Linked DNA regions of Homo sapiens: regions 1 and 2 are each linked to region 3. Evidence: promoter capture Hi-C in human tissues and cell types (Jung and others, 2019). All regions are on one chromosome and are shown on one strand. The core of a region is centred on a gene start or on the middle of the fragment in contact, and the rest is flanking DNA. Distances in the headings are between cores, read along the strand shown. Region 1 overlaps TBC1D19 (TBC1 domain family member 19). Region 2 has its middle 50 kb from the start of CCKAR. Region 3 holds the start of SEL1L3 (SEL1L family member 3).

Region 1 (2,763 bases), core at 40-2,539, 880 kb before region 3:
TTTGTCAGGTGTATCTATGCTGTACGTGCTACCCACATGTTAGTCACTTAGAAGCCACATTGGTTATCAGGTTGACTGTCCTGGTATCACAGCGCCTGTGTTCAAGTGACCCTTTTTTTTTTAACTTAATAATGGCCCCAAAGAGTAAGAGTAGTGATGCTTGCATATTGTTATAATTGTTCTATTTTATTATTAGTTATTGTAAATCTCTTGCTGTGCCTAATTATAAATTGAACTTTATCATAGTTATTCATATATAGGGAAAAACATCATGGTGTATATACAGGGCTCAGTACTATCCACAGTTTCAGGCACCCACTGGGGGTCTTGGAATATATCTCCCACAGATAAGGGGAAACTACAGTATAGCAGAAATTACCCTTATTAGTGTACAGTTCAATATGTTTTGTATGAAGAACCAGATGGAAATTATAGAACTGAAAAATACAATAACCGAAAAACCACACAAAAACATCTCACTAGATGGGATCCAATAGTAAAATGAGAATGATGGAGGAAAGAGCCAGAGAATTTGACTATAGATCAGTAGAAAATGTCCAATCTACACAATACAGAAAAAGGATTAAGAAAAAGTGAAGGGCTGTGTGTGGTGATGGCTGTAATCCCAGTGCTTTCGGAGGCTGAGACAGGAAGGAATACTTGAAGCCAGGAGTTTGAGACCAGCCTGAGCAACAAAGCAAGAACCTATCTCTATGGAAAAAAAAAAAAAAAAAATAGACCTGCAAGGACCTGTGAGAAAATAACAAACCTTATTTTTCTTCATCTTCTTTTTTTCTTTTATATCAAAAGTTTGAACATTTGTGCCACTGGATTGCCAGAAGAAAAGAAGAATGAGTATGGTGCAGAAAAAAATATTTAAAGTAATAATGGGTCAAAACTGCCAAATTTGGCAAAAGACATAAACTTATAAATTCAAGCTTAGCAAACACCCAAGAGGATAAATCCAAAGAAATCTATGCCTAGATATATCATAATCAAAGTGGTGAGAACTGAAAACAAAAATCTTGACAGTAGCCACAGAAAAATAAGGATTGATATCACTTCTTCCTGGAGTGCTTGGTAGAATTTGCCAGTGAAGCCATCTAGGCCTGAAGTTTATTTGAAGGTAGAATGTGATTAATTAAAGAAGTATATTGGCTGGGTGCGGTGGCTCACACCTGTAATCCCAGGACTTTGGGAGGCCAAGGCAGGCAGATTGCCTGAGGTCAGGAGTCCGAGACCAGTCTGGCCAACATGGTGAAACCCCGTCTCTACTAAAAATACAAAAAAAAAATTAGCTGCGCATGGTGGCGTGCACCTGTAATCCCAGCTACTTGGGAGGCTGAGGCAGGGGAATTGCCTGAACCAGGGAGGTGAGGTTGCAGTGAGCCAAGATCGCATCACTGCACTCCAGCCTGGGTGACAGAGTGAGACTCCATCTCAAAAAAAAAAAAAAAAAAAAAAAAAAAAGAAGTATATTGTAAACCTCATGGCACCTATCAAAAACATACTTTAAAAGTATAAAAATCTAATAGTGGAGATAAAATGGAATAAAAAATGTTCAATTCAAAAGTAGGCAGAGAATGAGAAAAAAGGAATAAAGAGAACATGGAATAACTAAAAAAATTTAGTAATATAGTTGATTCCAATTCAATAATATCAATTTTATTAACTATAAATGGTATAAACACACCGATTAAGAAACAGACTGCCACATAGGAAGACCCAACTTTCGATAAGAAATCCACTTAAAAAAAGATATTGATAATCAATATGTTAAGTAAAAGAATAGAAAAGAATGTATCATGCAATTATAATCAAAAGAAAGCTGGAATGGCTATATTAATATCAGACATAGTAGATTTATTACTAGGAATAAAACAGGACATTATATAATAATAAAGTGATCAATTCTCCTAAAAACAAAGCATCCAAATACGTGAAGAAAAAGACAAAGCACTAAAGGAAGACATAGACAAAATCCACAATTATAATTAGAGCTGATCACATTTCTCTTTCAATAATTAATAGAAAAAGTAGACAGAAAATTAGTAAGTGTATACAAGGTTTGAACATCATTATTAACAAACTTGATTCCTTGACATTTATATGACATTCTGCCCGATACTTGCAGAATACAAATTTTTTTCAGGTGCACATGGACCAAGACAGATCATGTTCTGGATCAAAAAACAAACTTCAACACATTTAAAACAACTGAAATCATGTGAAGCATGCTGTTTAACTGCAACAGAATTAAAACAGAAATAAATGCCAGAAAGATAGCTTTCCAAATATTTAGAAATTAAACAACGTACTTTTACATAACCCATATTCAAAGAGGAAACCACAGGATAAATTATGAAACATTTCTAATTAAATAAAAATGAAAATATAACATATCAAAATTTGTTAGGTGGAGGTAAATAAGTAATTTGAGGGAAATCTGTAACATTAATGCTTATATTAGAAAAAAAGAAAGTCCCAAATCAATGATCTAACTTCTACCTTAAACAAGCAGAAAGACAAGAGCAAAATAAATCTAATGCAAGCAAAAAGAAGAAAATAATAAATATAAGAGTAAAAATAAATAAAATTAAAGTAGAAAAACAACAGAGAAAAAGAATCAATGGTACAAAAAACTGATTCTTTCAAAGATGAATAAAATTGATAAACCTGCAGCCAGAATAATCAAGAAAAAATGGGAGATAATACAATTACTAATCTCAGGAATGACAAAGATGATGTCACTACTAACCCTAT
Region 2 (2,735 bases), core at 87-2,586, 580 kb before region 3:
GAGGAGCACAGGTGGGGAGCACCATCGCTTTGGTGATTTTCTTATTAGGTTAAAGGAAGTGGGTAGGACTTCCCAGTAACTGGAAGGATAGATGGTCCATTTCCCTAATTCATTTTAGATAATTTCCATCAGTATGGAAATGGGGTGGGATTTGTAATACTTTTAGAGAAGATAATCACATAGCATCATTTTGTGTTAACCGAATTCAGGGGATGGGACTTTGTTTTGGAACTCTCCAAGATGCAGAGGTTGGGAAGGTGAGAAGGAACCAGCAAGGCGGACTGAGAAAGAGCAGCCTGAAAGCTTGGTGTCCAGGAAGCCATGTGAAGAGTTTCAAACATGAGAGAGTGATCAGCTGCCTCCAGTGAGTTAAAGCCTAGGATGTGCAATATTTCAGGCAACACTATAATGAAGTGATCTGCACCTAGTTAACAAAATGTGAGTTTGCAATTTTTTTACATCTCAGAAAACAAAGTATTTCATATGCCCTAACATGCTACTTTCAATCTTTGAAAATATCTCCATGTCTATTACAAATGTTAAAACGAACACAAAAAACAAAAGCAAAGCCCCAGGTTTGCCTGGGCTCTTGTGCCTACAAAGTCGTCTTTCTCTCCACTTGTCCACAATGAGTCAAACTCCAGTAACTGTGTCCGAAGCTCTGCTCTTTGCACACACTTGGCCGGTGTTCAAATCACATGACAGAAAATGTTAAGCATCACATTCCAAAAAGAGACTCCTTGGTTTTGTTGAAACATTTTCAGAGCAGGTTTGCAGTGTGTGGTGGTAGTGGGGATGCACATTCACACACACGTGTGTTCCAAATCTCATTAGTGACGGGAGTGCACATCTCAATTGTCTTCTGACAACCCGTCTTTGGGACCTCCACATTTCTGGGACCTCTCCCTCTACTTTGCTTCTCTCTGCTCACCTTGTATCCACAATCCCCTCCCTAGAAGGCACCTGTGTCTTTGTTGGTGTCATTTAGATCTCAAATCACAGTGTGGAAAAGAAAGCACGGCCCTTCCAGAGCCAGGCCACAGGAAGGTTTCTCTACAGATACGCCTGGCCAGTTTGAGTGAGGAGACACAGCTCTGAGGATTGTCTCTGTCTGTGAATCTCAGCACAGATACCTCTTATTAGGTTTTTGTGATAATTTAGCCTCTCTGAATTTGCAGAACTGCTCTCATGAGTAGGGGAGCTCGCCAATTAAAACTGAGGTGTTTCTTTTCCCCCAAACCAAAGGTTTTTTAAACTCAGGAGTTGCCCAACAACTGTATGCGAACTTCTACATACAGCAACTTCGCCTTGGATGTCAAAAGGCTCTGAGGTTTATGCACACGGTTAGGTAATGCAAGCCTCTGTATCGTGACTACAGTTGCATATGAACATTTTAGCTTTTAGACGGGCCACATTATCACATTATCTGACTATCCCATTTGTAATTTGGTATATGGGCCTTCTCAAGTATAAGGAGAAATTTTAACTCTGTTTAAAAAAACAAGGCAGCAAATTCTAAAATGACTGTTAACAGTTATTTGGAAAACAGTAACAATCACTAAAAATAATTACTTTTATGGAGCAAAGCCACTCTTTCACTTCTTGTCAATCACTCTCACTTCTGTCTGTGGACACACTAAGCTCCTGCCACCCGAAGCGGGGTCTTTTGACCAGCAGCATCGGTGTCACGTGGGAGCATGCTGGAAAATGCAGAATCTCGGGAGTCACACTGAAGACCTGAGAGTGACTTGGTATCTCACGCCCTCCCCCGGGGCTCACCTCTTCTCCATACACCCCTCCCTTGGTGATCTCATCAGGATGATGGCTTTAAATATCATGTCCAAGTGACTGACTCCCAAATGTTCCCATCCAGCACAGACATCGCCCCGAACTCCAGACATGGAGATCCAACTGCCTACTTGTCCTTTCAACTTGAAGTCTAACAGGGATCTCAAAATGGGCATAGCGAAAACTCTTGATTTCCTCTCTCAACCCCCAGCTCGCTCCTCCTTCCACCTACCTCCCGCTTCAGACTTCCCTGCTACTCATCTAGTTGCATTCTGTGGTAGACAGAGGTCACTCCTGAACCAAACCAAGAGTGACAGTGAGGCTGTTTCCTCAGCCCATCTGCAAGTTCCCTTGCCTTTCGTCAGCCTGGCTCTTCCGTCCCGCCTCCAACTTGTCTGACTCTACTCTAAGGTGGGGTTCTCTATCAGGAAACTCCTTGGAGACCCTTTAAGTAGCGCCTTCTTGGTATATAGGAATCCCAGAGTCACAGTCGGCTGTGTCAGTGTCTGGTGGGATTTCCTTGTCTCTTACTCCTCTCTCGATCCCTACAGTTCACAGGGGTCATTCTACCCTGATGAATAGTATACCCAGGGGCTGGTTACCTCAAGGTGGCTGAAACAGACCCAGAGAAAGACAGCTGGGCTAAGCTTAAGTTACTTAACCAGCTTCACCTTACTGTGATATGTGCACGGCACCCCCACTGCAATAAACAGTGACATCAGAGGCAGCAGTTTTATGCTCCACATCACATATCAGTACATTTAGAACATAATTCTCACCCTGGATGCTGCTAAGGTCCTTTGATGGTCAGATTCTATCTATCTCTGAGCCCTCTGATAGGTAAACATGCATCCATACTGTTTCTTGCCTCTCTCCACTAGAAGGAAAGCTCCACGTTGCAGGCCTTTATTTATTGCCACATCCACAGTTTCTGGCTGTGGAGGAGC
Region 3 (3,044 bases), core at 458-2,957:
ATGCTTTAATGTGGTGGCAGCTGGCTGGGAGGAGCAGGAGCCCAGTTCCCTAAAAGCCAATAGTTCTGGAAATGGAGGAGGGCTGTTTGAACCAGCGCGTTAACATCACCCAGGAGCTTGTTAGAAAGGTACATTCTCAAGTCCCTCCCAGGACCAACTGAGTCAGAAATTCTAGGGCTGAAGTCCAGGAATCTGTGTTTTAACAATCCCTCCAGGTAATTCTGAAGTTTGAGAACCGGTGGAATAAGGCCAGGGAACTCACACAAGGCCACAGCTCTTAGGTGACCTAAAAAAAAGTGGACGACAGCTGAGGAGCCACCATGCCTGGTGTGGCCAGGCCTGTACTGAAGCAGCTGAGGGCGCGTCCACGCCCGTCAAACCATCCCGGGCACCCCGTCTCACCACCAGCCTCTCCCCGACGTCTGTTGTGACTTGACCTATGCTCGTGGCACAGGGAAAGGGCTGTGGCCTCTCAGGCTCCCAGGCTATTATTAGTTCCAATCCGCACAAATCTACCAGTGCTAAAGGGAAGCTTCTGCGAACTTTGGAAGGTGGATTAACTGTTTCAGAGCAGCAGCTGCGGGCCCAGATAGTTGTCGGAGCCGCTAGACACAGCCAAGCGCTTCCCTGAAAGCCAAGGCCGGCGGCGAGCTGGTGGTCCCGCCGGCCGGAGGCCCCTCCCCGCCAGGCCGCAGAACCCGGGTCGGAGAGCAGCCAGTCTCAACCTGCGTCCCCAAGGCCGAGGATGTGTCCTGGTTTTTTAAAAAGCTGTTTGCGCACTTCCAGGGCCTCACCCCTTTCATTTGGGGCTCCAGTATTACTGTATTGACCTAATTAATTCATTTTTTTCTCAGTCCAAAGTGGAAGCCGGAGCACAGGGATGCAAATCAAATACAAACCCGTCCTGGGTGCCAATACTCTGGACAATTAAAACAAAGAGCGCAGTGGTGGCGGTGGCGGCGGCACCACACAAAACCCTCGGGAAACATCCAGAACGTGCCGCGAACCAGCCGGCAGGGTGGGGCGCAGCCCGGCTGCAAACATGCCAGCAAGGAGGCAGTCCCAACCCCGCAGGTGGACAGGTGGAGGTTGGCAGGGGTCAAAATCCATCCTGAAGGCCTGGGAGCCGGGCAGCTGCGCGGCACAACTCCAGGGGGCACACTCGCCCTGCGCCCTGCGGGAATGGCGCCCCGGCCAAAAAAGCAACCAGACAAAAACCCATTGCACGGGCGGGAACTGGTCTGTGCGACCCGCAAAAGGGGTGGGTGGGAGAGGAAGAATGCGGAAGCGAGGAAGAGGATGGGAAGGGAGAAAGAGGAAAGGGAGGAAAAGGAGAAAGTGAAAAAGAGAGGGGGTTTGGGAGCGCGAGGGGAGAAGGAAGAGGGAGCCGGAGGGAGAGGAGGGGGATCGCAGAGAGCAGGAGCGCGGAAGGGGGGCGGGGGAGGAGCAGAGAGAAAGGGAAAGGGGGGTGCGCCGGGGCCCAGCGACCCGGGCGGGGGGTGGCGGCGGCCAAGGGGCGGGACCCGGGTCGGTGCCCACCTGCGTGGGCGCCCGCTGCTCCGAGGGGTGGAAGCCCGGGGGCCAGAGGGAGCGGCCGGGAGGAGGGCTGGGCAGGGAGGCAGAGGGGAGGGAGGGGACGGGGACGGGGAGGCGGGGAGGAGCCGGCGCTCGGCTGGGGCTGCGGGGGCGGCGACGGCGGGAGCGGCAGTGGCGGCGGCGGCGGGTCCGGAGGTGGCGGCAGGTGGCCCCGCGCGCGGCGGCCGGCCCGGCCGGGGGCGGGCGGGAAGGTGGCGCCTCGGGCGGGGGCCGGTCCCTGCACCAGGTGACCTGTTCCGGCCCGGATCCGGGCGGCCTCGCCATGCAGCGGCGCGGCGCGGGGCTCGGGTGGCCGCGGCAGCAGCAGCAGCAACCCCCGCCGCTCGCGGTCGGCCCCCGGGCCGCAGCCATGGTCCCGAGTGGCGGCGTCCCCCAGGGCCTCGGCGGCCGCTCTGCCTGCGCGCTGCTCCTGCTCTGCTACCTGGTGAGCGCCGGACCCTGCCCGGGTCTTCCCCTCCGCGCGGGGCCCCGGGGACGCGGGTGGGGGCGGCCGGGGACACCCGCCACGCGGGGCGGGGACGCCGCTGCTAGTTTTCTCTCTTCCTCGTCGCTGCGCCCCGGGCGTTCCCGGCACCTGGGATAGGTACCCCGGGCGTGGAGAGGGGCGCTTGGACCGGACTTGCCAAGCTGCTCTCTCGCTCGTGCTCATTCCTTTCCCTCCTGGACTCTCTCTAGACCCGGGTCGGGTTACCCTCGAGACCCCTTCTTGTCCTCGACTCCACCCGGGAGCCTCGCCGCCCGGAGTTCGCTCCCCGCCCCGCCGCGCGCAGTCTCCAGCACCCCCCAACCCCCCACCCCTCCTGGGCTTCCCTCTCAATCTTCTCGCAGCTCCTTTCCTTCCCGTGCCCAACTTCGCCTCTTACTCTCGGCGCCCGCCACCCGCGTCGACCCTCCTTTTAGTTTCCACCGGGTCCTCCCGGCCCGGACAGTTTTCTGCCAACGCACCTCGCATCTCCAGCGCTCTTCAACTCCTCCTTGGTCACTCCAGCCAAGTTGCGGATGCCGGAAAGAAATCTAGTTCTCTGTAACACGCTTACCGCCAGAGTGGTGACTTTAGCTGCGTCTTGAACATTGTCATTTCAGAGAATATGTTTGGCTCATGCATGTCAGTTTGCAATTTGCACACTTCTTGGCTTCTGTTTTAGTCATCAACTAAAGGGCAGTAACCTATTTTTCAAAACCCATTTATTTTAAATACCAGAGTAGCTGAGACCCCTCAGAACAAAGTGGGGAGAAATTTTCTCAGTTCCTTTGAGGGCTTGCTTGCTTCTGTTTTGAGTTCTCCTAAACAATAGTAAATTTACAGAAGGCGACACCCTTCCTGCCCAGAGTAACTTATGTTCCACAATCCTGCAGAAACCTTGGGTTATCTCGCCATATATTACTGTAAATAAATGAAATGGAAAATGCTGAATCATGAAACTGATGTAATAGGAAATTCACAGAAT

What was found. The method cuts DNA at HindIII sites, captures the fragments that hold promoters and counts their contacts. A contact is called where the count stands out against the background at its distance.
Region 1: a fragment that was not itself captured here is called in contact with the fragment with the promoter of SEL1L3 in region 3 in 1 of the 25 tissues and cell types used here (lymphoblastoid cells).
Region 2: a contact is called between a fragment that was not itself captured here and the fragment with the promoter of SEL1L3 in region 3, in 2 of the 25 tissues and cell types used here (lymphoblastoid cells and thymus).

The regions. Positions count from the first base shown.
Region 1 is chr4:26,744,205-26,746,967 of GRCh38, reverse strand. The region is part of intron 18 of TBC1D19 (TBC1 domain family member 19); the gene reads right to left. Among named protein-coding and RNA genes, the nearest start is that of STIM2-AS1, 120 kb to the left of the region's middle. The HindIII fragment of the contact is 3,212 bases long and covers 1-2,763 here.
Region 2 is chr4:26,439,241-26,441,975 of GRCh38, reverse strand. No RefSeq gene overlaps it. Among named protein-coding and RNA genes, the nearest start is that of CCKAR, 50 kb to the left of the region's middle. The HindIII fragment of the contact is 3,524 bases long and covers 1-2,735 here.
Region 3 is chr4:25,861,651-25,864,694 of GRCh38, reverse strand. It overlaps SEL1L3 (SEL1L family member 3), which reads left to right and starts at 1,707. Exons shown (of 24, transcript NM_015187.5): 1 at 1,707-2,020. The coding sequence starts at 1,859. LOC102723733 (a long non-coding RNA gene) reads right to left here. Exons shown (of 2, transcript XR_427503.5): 1 at 2,542-3,044. RefSeq lists silencers at 1,474-1,633, 1,684-2,143, 2,414-2,708. The HindIII fragment of the contact is 7,102 bases long and covers 1-3,044 here.